Regions from separate parts of the Homo sapiens genome. Here region 1 is linked to region 2. The links are contacts of gene promoters, found by promoter capture Hi-C in blood cells and fetal thymus (Javierre and others, 2016). All regions are on one chromosome and are shown on one strand. Each heading gives the region's core, a stretch centred on a gene start or on the middle of the fragment in contact. The rest is flanking DNA. Distances are from core to core; before and after follow the strand shown.

Region 1 (5,844 bases), core at 1,231-3,730, 120 kb before region 2:
CATCCTAAAATCTGCCCATTGAACCACAGGTTCTGAAATTACAGAAAAATGGCAAAGTCCCAAAGTGGAATATCATTACACAGAAGGTCAAGGAAAAATGTTAGGACCATGAAACATGGAAATGAGCTAAGACACAGTTGGAGGGAATCCTCTATCTTGGAGAAGGATCTAAGAAACAGTGACATTTTCAGCTGCCAAAATATTTTCCTTGGGGCTACCCTCAGAACAGAATAGCCAAGTGGGATGAGAGCAGAACTGGGGGGATACTTGCTGGCACTCTTCCAACTCTAGCAATTCCTCAGCCACGGAACAAGTAAGGCAGAGGAGCTAGAACCTTTAGGACTGCCTCTCAGCCCTTTTTATCCTTTAGCTGTTGGGGGCTGGGTATCACCCAAATCAGTGGACACCTAGTCTGTAGGCAGGGCTGGCCACAAGGCCAAGTTAAAAATTACTCCTGTGCCCTGCCTTTGGGCAGAGAAGAGCATAGCCTGGGTTCTCTCACCGGCAGGGATCAGTAAATTCTAGCCATACAGGACCCAGACACTCTTTGTCCAGCTCTGTTTTCCCAGTGTCTCCTGGGGAGTGATTCAGGGCCAAGGTGACAGTGGGTTTGGAGCCCAGATGAAAGGATCGCAGGGACCACAAGACAAGATCCCTTGTGTGGTGGCCGGCTGGAAAGAGGAGGGAGTGAGTGTGTGTGGAGGTCAGTGACGCAATTGCCCTGGCTCGCAGGGGTGGAGGAGGAGAAGGCTCGTGGTGTGTCTCCTTATAAAGAGGCCCTTACCACATGAAGCAGGGGTGAAGGTGATCCCAGTGTGAGTCACCCAAGAAGGGACGCTGTGTGCCCAGAGCCCAGAAGAGAGGACTTGTGGATTTCCCACTCTTTCCTTCTATGATTTTATGCGTAATATGGGTTGCTTTAGTCACTCAAGCTGCGTTGCTTCTCTTTCTGTCCTCTAATCCATTCCTCCCCCTTACTCTGCACTATCTATGATGTGTATGGGTTTTTAAGTCTATCAGTTCTTGATCTCTCTAGGTTTTTTTTTTTTTAATTTCCAAAGTTTGGAATCTATTGATTCCAAGAAACCCAAACCATCTTAATTGTGTTTGCCTTTGAGAAGATGGTCAAGTGGCTCTTTGCCAAGCATGGTTGTTCTTAGATTGTGTTTGCTTTCCTCCTTATCTTCAACCAAGGCAGATAGCACATCCTGGACTGGAATCTGAAGGGGGCCCCTCAGTTGAAGGCAGCTCAAGTCTGGCCTTTATTGAGGTCTGGGACTGCAGAGAGCTCTGGGGAGTGGCCCTGTAATCAGCCAGCCACCAACCCCACACTGCCTTGTAATAAAGCAGCACTATATTTGTTCTGTTTATAGTCTTCTCTGTAATAATGTCACAGCCCTCACTTCTCTCTCTCTTTGGGGAGATTTTCTGGGTAATAGAAAATTTTAAAATGTTAAAGAGTGTTGTAGACTCCGAAAATGTTTTTATCTAGGATGTGTCTTAAGTTGGGAAGATGCCCAGGAAATGCAGGCAGCTGGTAGCCTTAAGAAGGAGTGTGCTGTGGTGAGTGTGTTGTATGTGTGTGCACTGTGGCTGTGAGGACCATGTGTGAGGAGGGGCGGTGTGGGAGAAGGTGTGGGTGTGTGTCATGTGGTTGGAGTAGGTGTGGGGTGCACTCCTCTCGTGGTGGTGGTGGTGAGTAGAGAGTGTGGTTGGAGTGGGTGTATGAGAGGTGTGCAGAAGGGGCCAGTGCAGTAATGGAAAACCCTGTTTGGGCAAATTTCAAAACGGTCAGATATGCTGGATGGTGAGAACTCAAATTTAGCTCCAGAATGGAACCTTTTAAAGCTTACATTCCACTCATTCTTTCAACTGATGCCCGCTTTCCTCTGCTTCCCAGCCTTTTCAGGCCTAGGCTCCACAGTTTTGCTGATATCAATTCTTTATTCCTCTTCCCTACTCCTCCCAGTTCCTCACCTCTTTCTTTGTTAACCAGGAAGAAGTCAGAGACGGACTGTTGTAGAGGGAGTGAACAGTAAGCCATGCTGATCTAGGTTGATGACAGCTGGCCTGATGTCCCAGGCTGAAGTCTTTGAGGTTTACCCAGGGTGGCGAATGCTGGGGGCTGCCATTGCTAGGGTTATTGCTAACAATTTCGATTCCTCCTATTTCCTTCTCCCTCTCTCTACCTCTGCCCCCACCGCCAGGATTCTATAAATACTTTATTATATGGCACTAATAAAACTTCAAGTATTTCTTTTTATTAGAGCTACATAATATGGTAATTGTGTGACAGAACACAGCGCCTGAGAGTAGCCCCCACCCTCTTCCTAGGTGTGGCCTCTCACCACCTCAGCTTGGGCTAGGCCTACAGGCCTCTCTGTTCCTCTTGAGTGTGGGTAAAGGGGGTCGGATCAGCTTTTCAGGCAGAGCTAAGGGGTGAAGGCCTTTGAGTAGGATCAGGCTAGAGGAGTAAAGACGCACTTTTCTAGTTTTAAATGTAGTCTGTCTTGGTGGATGAGTACAGCAGGAATCTTATTAGCATTAATTCCAGCCACTGCATGGGGTTACTTAACCTGCCTTTCCTTTTAATAGTTCTGTCATGTGACATAGAAGTAGATTTTGAACTTAGACCCAGGGCTAGGCGTACATGGGTTTCTTTGGTTAACTTTGATTCACAGTACTTTTTGTTTTGTTGTTTTTGTTTGTTTTTAATAATGATCATCATTCTTTCTGATGTTTCCTGGGTTGAGGATCTGTAGGTGGAAAAAGATTCTGACTCCTTCTGTCTCTCACTGCATCAGTCGTAGAATAGCTTTCCGCTTAAGTCTCAGTCATTGTTTTCTGTGTCCACTAGTCTCATGGGAGGGTATGGGGCTGGAAACTCCAGTCTATAGAACTTTACTTACTGTTAATGTGTGATCTACAAAATATGTCTTTGTTGCCTAATTGAGCCTTGTAATTTGATTCTGGTTTTTGTCCTATGTGATCTGACTGTCAACCTTTCCTACCCCTCTACTGTAGCTATTGAACTAGGTCAGTGTATCCCTACCAGTGTTTTTCTGAATTGAGTATGATTTAGCCTCTACATCCTAACTTCTCCAAAGCTTGAGAATTGGGGATTCCTGCCTGGGTAGCTACTAACAGAGCCCCCCAGTGCCAGGGACGTAGGACACAATGTTTAGTTCTTTCTTAACTGCCTGTGTGCCCAGTGTTTGCATAGGGGCCAAGCTCCAAACTGGCCTCCGCTATCCACTCTTTACTCCCCATGGGGATGTATGGGCATATGCGCTTTCTACTTTTTGGGCCTAGCCAAGGTTAATATTAGACCTTCTAGCTGGGCTGCTGTTCCCGAAAGCCACAGGGTGTTGTTAATATTCATGTGACCGCAGAGGCTCATCAATATTCATGAGGTATCTGCAGTCTTCCTTCAGGCCCTTAGTTTGGAGAAAACAGGAATGATTAGAGTTTCTAGAACTTAAAACTAACCCTATTTCCTGGAGTCTATTGAGGAGGAGGCAAATCTTAAGAGTAAATGTCTGGGCCAGGAGAAAAAGCATTTTTCATGCCAATATCCTAAACTGGTCTGACAACTTAGTGGAGTTGTGCTGAATGGCTGTTATTAATGTTATCATCCTTATCCAGCATTTATTGAATACCACTGGGTTTAGGTTCTTGTACCAGTACTATGGGGGATAGGAAACTAACATATTTAAGTACTTACTGTGCCAAGGGTACAGAGATAACTAACATGATTCCTGCCCCCAAGAAGCATATGGCTCAGAAAATGAGATAGATAGGTGTACACACACTTATCTTACCAAAGTAAGAGTGCTGTAATAAAGACAAACATGAAGTGCTCAGTGAGGACAGATGAGGAAGTCATTCCCTGGTGGGGAAATTAGTGAAAGATCCCCAGGGAGCTCTTGAAAGGTGCGTGGATCTAAGGAAAGTAAAGTAAAATTTTTGTGACTTCTTGAATAACCCTCCACAAGGCTGTAAATACCCTCCTGGGCTCCCTACTTACCAGCCGTGGCTGCTGCTCCTGCTGTCAGATGGTTCCCCTGTGGTCTAGTCTCTTGTTGAATAGAACTTCTTGCTTATAAAGTGGTCTTCTACTCCTTAGGTGGGAGATATTGCCCCACCTTTTTTCTTGAAAGATTTAACTAGTAAGAGCTCCCAGTTGCGATATAGTTCTTGGTATATTTTGGGTATTTAAAAAGATGAATATAATTCCAGACTATAATTAAAAGAATAGCATGAAAACCCCAAGCCACCCTACTATTGTATTTAGCATTAGTTGAGCTCTTCAGGTTTTTAAACAATTTTCATTAATTTAATTTTTTTTTTTTTTAAGATAGGGTCTATTGCCCAGGCTGGAGTGTGGTGGTGCAATCAGGGCTCACTGCAGCCTCGACCTCCCAGGCTCAACTGATCCTTCCACCTCAACCTCTCAAGTAGCTAGGAGCATGTCCAGCTGATTTTTTGTATTTTTAGTAGAGATGGGGTTTCACCATGTTGCCCAGGCTGGTCTCAAACTCCTGGACTTAAGTGATCCACCTGCCTCAGCCTTCCGAAGTGCCAGGATTATAGGTATGAGCCACTGTGTCCAGCTGCTCTTGAGGTTTTGATGTCACGTGTGAAAGATGCACGGGGGCCTTAATGCCCATAGAAAAAATCAGAACAATAATAAAAGAGGTGGACATAGGATAAATAAGAAAAATCCAAGGACAATGGAATTATTTAATTCAGAGAGTAGATTGAATGGTAGTTCATTCTTTTAAATATGGAAAATTAACACATATAGGATAGTAAATAGCTTTCCTGCATTTTGCTCAAGATAGTACAAGAAGGGATAAACTTGAATTATAAGGATGTAGTTGAAGTAGAGAGAATTTTTACCTGACTAGATTATGTTACTAGGGAAGCTTTGGGAACTCCTTTCCTAGATTTCTTTTTTTTTTTTTTAGACAGAGTTTTGCTCTTGTTGCCCAGGCTGGAGTGCAATGGCGCATTCTTGGCTCACTGCAACCTCAGCCTCCCGGGTTCAAGTGATTCTGGTGCCTTAGCCTCCCACGTAGCTGGGATTATAGGCATGCACCGGCATGCACCACCATGCCTGGCTAATTTTGTATTTTTAGTAGACATGGGGTTTCACCATGTTGGTCAGGCTGGTCTTGAACTCCTGACCTCAAGTGATCCACCCACCTCAGCCTCCCAGAGTGCTGGGATTACAGGCATGAGCCACTGTACCTGAGCTGTTTCTTTAAGATTCTTTACATAATGATCAGTATAGTAGAGTCCTGCTTGGAACAATTAGAGGACGAGGTTAGGAGAGGACATGGCTAGCCCTAAGATTTGGTGGCTCTCTATTTCCCTAGATTTATTGGCTCATACTAGGGCCGATCAGAGACTTTTCTCTCTTCTACAAATGGCAGTATACTTGATGGAGCCCCACATATTTCCCAAGTTGACATTTGGGGGAAATACTTGCATATAATTTAAGCTAGCAATCCTAGGTATTGAATAAATATCGCCTCTTCTTCATTCTTTCTACAAAGACCTGTAAATCTTGAGGTCTGAGGAAGCTGACCTTGGACACTGGCATGCAGTTCCTAGAGTTAGGTCCAGGAATGGGGTTTAGGGAAAAAACATAGCCAGAAAGAATAATATTAACACTTTTTTATATACTCATTCATTGCCCCCTATTCTGATTCCTTCTTCTTATATTTCTTCATTTTGCCTTTTTCCAAAGCCTGTTTATATTTTTGTCTTGATCTTTGCTATTCACTTACATTTTCTTTAAGATGAATGAGAAATTGCTACACTACCTTATTGAGTCAG
Region 2 (5,912 bases), core at 996-3,495:
CTAGGGGCCTGCTGGAAGACAAGAACTTCCATGAGGCTGTGGACCAAAGCCTGGTGGAGCAGGTGCCGTACTTCCGCCAATTCTGGAATGAGCAGTCAACTAAGTTCATGGACCAGAAAAACAGCCTGTACTTAATGCCAATCCTGCCTGTACCCTCCAGCAGCTGGGAGGATGGGAAGGGCAAGCAGCCGAAGGAAGACAGACCAGAGCACTATCCAGGGTTGGGAAAGAAGGAAGAGGGGGAGGAGGAGAAGGGTGAAGAGGAAGAAGAAGAGTTGGAGGAGGAAGAGGAGGAAGAAGAGGAGACAGAAGAGGAGGAGTTGGGCAAGGAGGAGATAGAGGAGAAGGAGGAGGAGAGGGATGAGAAGGAAGAGAAAGTGAGCTGGGCGGGCATCGGGCCCACACCACAGCCTGAGTCCCAGGAGTCCATGCAATGGCAGTGGCAACAGCAGCTGAATGTCATGGTGAAGGAGGAGCAAGAACAGGACGAGAAGGAGGCCATCAGAAGGTGAGCAGCCAGGCCCCAGTGAGGACGGGAGGGAGGCGAAGTGCAGAAGGTTCCTAGGAGGCAGTGGGATGCCAAGGATGGCTGCTGCCTGTATGCACATCTCATCCTAATTCAGTGCTTAGTGAGGTCATGTTGGTAGCTTAAGGCCTCTGTGGGAGTATCCGCCCGGCACCAACACTGAACTTTATTCTTTTTTCTCTAAGAACTAGTTGTTGACATTTACCAACTTACCAGGAGAATTGTTATAGTCTGCAAAGTCTTGTAAATGGGCTTCTAGAGCCAGAAAAGGACCACCTGTCTTGCAGGTGGGACTTCCCGCCGGGGCTGCCCTACAGATGATTTATGTCATTGTAGGGATTCCCTAGGCCCCACCCAGTCCCTTCTGCGCCCTCTCATCACTTCCCTACCTTTCTCTAAACTTGGCCCTGAGATGCCTACTACATCGCCTGGGTTTGAATCCCACCCCTTAAACCAGCAGCATATTTGGCAACTTGGAATCTTTTAGCCACACTTGGAACGTCCGTAACATTGAAACAAGAATGCCCCATAGTGTAGTGGATGAGGGGAGTCGAATGGGAATCTCCGTAGAGCTCGCGGCACAATGTACCGCACGGACAGGCGAGCGAGGAGGCGCGCGGGCACTGCGGCCGCCCTCATGCTAGCCCCCGCCCCCTCGCAGGCTCCCGGCCTTCGCCAACCTGCAGGAGGCGCTGCTGGAGAACATGATCCAGAACATCCTGGTGGAGGCGAGCCGCGGGGAGGTGGTACTCACCTCGCGGCCACGCGTCATCGCCCTGCCGCCGTTCTGCGTGCCCAGGTAAGGGCGCCGGGACCAGCGGCCGCGCAGACCGCGCGAGAGGGGCCACGGGGGCAGCCAGGCTCTGCCCGAAGCCTCGCCCCCACGCCTACCTGGGACTTTTTGTCTTCCAGGAGTCTGACCCCGGACACGCTGCTGCCGACGCAGCAAGCAGAGGTACTCCACCCGGTGGTGCCACTTCCTACCGACCTTCCGTAAATGCCCGCGCCCAGCCTCTCCGACATGCCGCTAGGGGTCACGCCTGGCCCCCTCTCCACCGCCAGTAAAAGCATCTAGTCTTTTTTCTGTATCTACCTTGACTTTATTTCCCCGACGAGGGGGAACGCGCGCGCGAGCTCTGAGAGGGAAGGATGGCAGGGAGCAGCCCGGGCGGACTGCAGAGGCGCGGCGGGAACTTAGGGCCCGGGAGGATGCACCTCTCCGCCCACACTGCAGCTGGACTGAGACCTGGCCGCTAGCTGCCGGCCGCTGGACCGGGTCTGGCCAGTGGAGGGCGCTCCGGACGGGGCCTGGCTGGCCTTTGCCCCAGCGCACCTTGGTGCACAGTAACTGAGTGCCAGGCCTGGCCAGCGAAGCAGGTGTCCACTGGGCAGGGCGGCCACCCCTCACCTTTCCGCGCCGCGCCTGCTCGGAGGCTTAGCACCCCCAGGGCCAGCCCCTTAGCATTTGCCGAGCTCCGAGTGCCCAAGAGGCTGGGGAGGAAGAACTGAGGCACGCCGCGGAGGGCCAGGAACTAGGCTGGGGCGGGTCGAGGTCACCACTGGATTTCGGGCCACAGACCCTGCTAAGCGACTCCCACTGTGAATCAGTCCTCAGACGAGGATGGATACCCACCTCTCGGTTCCTCCTAACCCCCGCCCGGGAGCTTCTGTCCTCTGCTTCTCGGCTCCTCCCTCCCAGAGGCAGGTGGGTGGAAAAGTGACATCTGGTGTTGTTCCAGAGGCGCCCAGGGTCCCCAGCACCCTCCCCTCCGCCCCCGCCACCAAGGCCTCGGAGAAGCTCCGGTCTCAGAGCCCGGGCGGGGGAGGGGGGAGCGCTCCGCCTCCATGAGTCAATATTTGCCCCGAGCAAACGGGCGCCTGGACAGGTGTGAGTGTGTGTGTCTGGGGGCGGGGACTGAACAGGCAGTATAAGAGCACACGGAGCCCGGGCTCCGGGACAAGCTCCAAGGCGTGGGCTGGGGACGAAGCCAAGCTAGGCTGGGCCGGGCGGAGGGGCCAGGAAAGCCGGGCGGAGGGTGGCTGGGAAAGGAGGGGCGGGCCAGGTGCGCACCTGCGGTGGCCGCCGCGGCCGCCGACGTGTCAGCCGCAGATGCGTTCAGGTGAGGGCGGAGGCTAGCGGGGCGCTGTGCAGCACTGAGCTCGCGGAAGACCAGGACCAGGAGATCACCGAGGGCGACCGCCAGGCCCCGGGCCCTCCGCTCCCGCCCCGCGACGAGCCCCTCGCACAAACCGGACCTGAGCGTTTTGTTCGTTCGGCTCGCGTGAGGCAGGGGCGGCCTCTCAGCACCAGCCCGGGGGCCGGCCTGATCGCCACGCAGGCACCTGCCGCCGCCACCGCCACCGCCATCTCAACCGTACGGGTGGGAGAGGCTGTGCGCCGCTCCAGGGGAGATCCGGCTCCCATCCGGCCCCACCCGCCCTGCCTTGCCCTGCCCGCAGCTTCTGGGCTGCCAGGCTCCATTCTGCGTCGTAATACGGGCTGAGCCGGCTCCAGCGGGTGGCGAAGGGGGCCGTGGCCCAGAACAGAAACCCTTCTGGAGGTGGAAACCCGGATTCTAGTCCGCCTCTGTCCCCGCGACTTCTATGGCCTTGGGCAAGTCATTTCCCGGCCTCTTGGTTTTCCCATTTGCTCAGTGAACGGTTGGTCTGGCCTCCCGCAGGGGCTAGGCCCTCCCCAGCCTCCTGTCCCGGTTCCTGGGCTCCTGGTCATGCTGGGGAAGATGCAGGCCCTCACGGAGTTGGAGCCAAGGCTGAGGTGTGGAAAATCTGGGCGGGGGAAGCTGAGGGCCACCATGGAGCCTCAAATCCACTCCTCGGATCTCTGTGGTGCTGCTGACATCCTGAGATGTCACTCCCTGACACTCCCTTGGTCCCTCTTTCAGTCTAAAAACGTCTGAGACAGTCAGACTGACTGAAAAGGACAAGCCCCCAGGCACAGCGGTTCACCACCTTCCTCAAACCTCAGAATCCCACATCCTCGCTTCCATCAGCTGGGGTGGGGTAGGTAGGTGGCCCTCAGCTCAGGCAGAGGCAGCCCCGGGAGATGGGAACCAGGGTCAGAAGTCCCTCCAAACTGCATGTTCCTAGAGGTGCTGGATTGTCCCCTCCACCACCACCCGCTCTAGTGCCCCTATGTCACCCAACTACCCAGAGGCCCCAAAGGATCTGCTGAGCCCGAGTCCGTGGCACAGAGAGAGAAGGGGGAGGGGCGAGATGGCGTTGGACAGATCCCAGGCAGGTTTAGGGAGAGGGTGGACTACAGCAGGGCTCTTCGTGGAGCAGCCCCAGGGGCAGGGGAAGGTCCTTGGGTCCTGGGCTAGGGTGTGTGCAGCCCTCTCCTGGCCCCCCTGACCAGGCTCTGTCCTGGGCCAGCCCTTTACTCTGCCTGGCACTGAAAGATTTGCCTGTCAGGGGCCTGGCATGGTCCTGGTGCACCTTCCCTGTGTCTTTGAGGGCTTCCCCTTCCCTCCCCAACCATGTCAGGGGCCAGGATTCCACATCCTGGGTTTGCACAACAAAGAGATCTCTGCTTGGAATGACCCCCTCCCAAACACACACACACACACACACACACACACACACACAGCCTTGAGGGGAGGGTGGTGAGAAGGAGGCAGCCACCCAGTGGGCGGGGATCTTTCCTGGTGACTGAGAATTACTGCCCCTTCACCCCAGGGCCTAATTTCCCCAGTCCCCCACCCACTATCCATCCTAAGACTGCAGTTGCTGGCCATTACCAGGGATCTGGCCTCTCATCCAGGTCCCTCCTCCGCTGCTCCGCTGCCACAGGGCGGGGTCTCCCAGTGCCGGGCAGGCCTGCAGGTGCGGGGCTGCATGGGGAGGGGGGCACTCAGCAGCTGCTGTACGAGGCAGGCCCCCTCCCCCTCCTGCTCAAAGCTGGAGCCTGCTTCCTGTCGTCCCTGTCAGCACCCTGGGTGGGGGAGGGACCAGGTAGTGGGGGAAGTGGAAAAGGGATTGAGCGGTTGGAGTGCAGCAGCTGAGAAACAGCAGAAGAGAAATGGAGAAGGATGAGAAAGAGACCAAGAGCATAGGCTGAAGGAAAGAGGGGTGTGAGAACACAGGGGAGATCCCAGGGGCTGCAGAGGCTGCAGACCCTAGACTGTGAGAGCGAGACCAGAGGCAGAGATGACCAGAGAGAAACCAGGGAAGAGGAACAGAGAGAGACACATGGAGACAATTCAAGATAACAAGAGATGTACGCTGAGAGAGATTGGGGATGTGGATTCATGGGGCTAGGGCTCAGGGGACCAGAGGCGGGAGGCATCGTGTGTATGGAGAAAGGGGGAAGCTGCAAAACAGCCCCATCCCACCCCAAACTAGGGTGGGAATTAGCCCCAGCAAAGGATAAAGAGGTGATTTCTAGGTGGCAGACAGGTTTGGAGGTGGGGGGAGGGTGATACCCTTATCTTGGAAGCCCATCTCCTCCCATTAAAGGACAGAATGTGAGGGAGGGGCAAGGCCCAGGCCGTGGCTGGACACCAGGGGCCAGTGAGGGGCACAGATCTGACTCCATCTCTCTGAGTTTCCCTCTTGGCCACAGATGGACAAGCCAACAGCTATGGCAGCTGCCCTGCCCCCACCCACCCCAATTATTCTGGCCTAGCCTTGGAATTTCTGGGCTTAGAGGCCGCCCAGGGTCTGTGTGACAGTGGAGGGACCTGGGAGTGGAGGCACTGGCTGGCAGGGGGGAGGCTCACACCCAGGTGCTAATCCCCATCCGGCCAAGGCAGTACCAGAGCCTCACTGACCTTCTTGGAGATTAGTCCCCATGGAGACCATGGCAACTCGCCCCCTCATTCTGGCTAGGCCAGACGGGTGGGTGGGTGGGGCAGGCATACGCTGGATAGGGAGGGGAAGGAACCTTCCAGAGGCATCACAGGAGTCAAGGCTGGGAGGCCCCTCCAGGACCCACAGCCAGCTTAGTTTATAGGTAAAAAACAGAGGCCTTAAGAGGGGATTGACTGACCAAAATCCCCAAATGGCGCCAGGACAAGCACCAACTCCAGAAGCCAGGTCCTCGGCTCGGTTCCCAAGCATTTTTTCCTAGAGAGCAGAGGCCTGAGCAAGAACAAAGGAAATTGGCACACTCCTCTCTGACCCTCCCAACCTTCCCAAACTGAGGTCATGAACTGAGGAGTGATTCAAATAGGGTGAGGCAGGAAGGCGCTCCGTCCTGAGCACTAGGCTGGCTTCTGCCAGGAACCAGGGTGAGAAGGAGGGTACAGCTCCCAGAGCCATGCTTGCAGCCTGACCACCCACCAACCAGGCGAGCGCCAGGGGTGGTGGGAAGCAGGTGTGTCAGAGCCAGTTATAACCACAACCACAGCAACAGCGGCGGCGGACA

The links. The method cuts DNA at HindIII sites, captures the fragments that hold promoters and counts their contacts. A CHiCAGO score of 5 or more calls a contact.
Region 1: a contact is called between a fragment that was not itself captured here and the fragment with the promoter of CFAP65-AS1 in region 2, in 9 of 17 cell types (endothelial precursors, M1 macrophages, M2 macrophages and 6 more). The highest score is 9.6, in endothelial precursors.

The regions. Positions count from the first base shown.
Region 1 is chr2:219,120,330-219,126,173 of GRCh38, reverse strand. All of the region lies in intron 5 of NHEJ1 (non-homologous end joining factor 1), which reads left to right. Among named protein-coding and RNA genes, the nearest start is that of NHEJ1, 38 kb to the left of the region's middle. The HindIII fragment of the contact is 1,259 bases long and covers 1,851-3,109 here.
Region 2 is chr2:218,998,548-219,004,459 of GRCh38, reverse strand. It overlaps CFAP65-AS1 (CFAP65 antisense RNA 1), which reads right to left and starts at 2,245. Exons shown (of 3, transcript NR_046086.1): 1 at 2,160-2,245. It overlaps CFAP65 (cilia and flagella associated protein 65), which reads left to right. Exons shown (of 35, transcript NM_194302.4): 33 at 5-508; 34 at 1,188-1,325; 35 at 1,439-1,614. The coding sequence ends at 1,523. It overlaps MIR375 (microRNA 375), which reads left to right and starts at 2,752; the gene lies at 2,752-2,815. RefSeq lists enhancers at 2,179-2,473, 3,916-4,899. The HindIII fragment of the contact is 13,795 bases long and covers 1-5,912 here.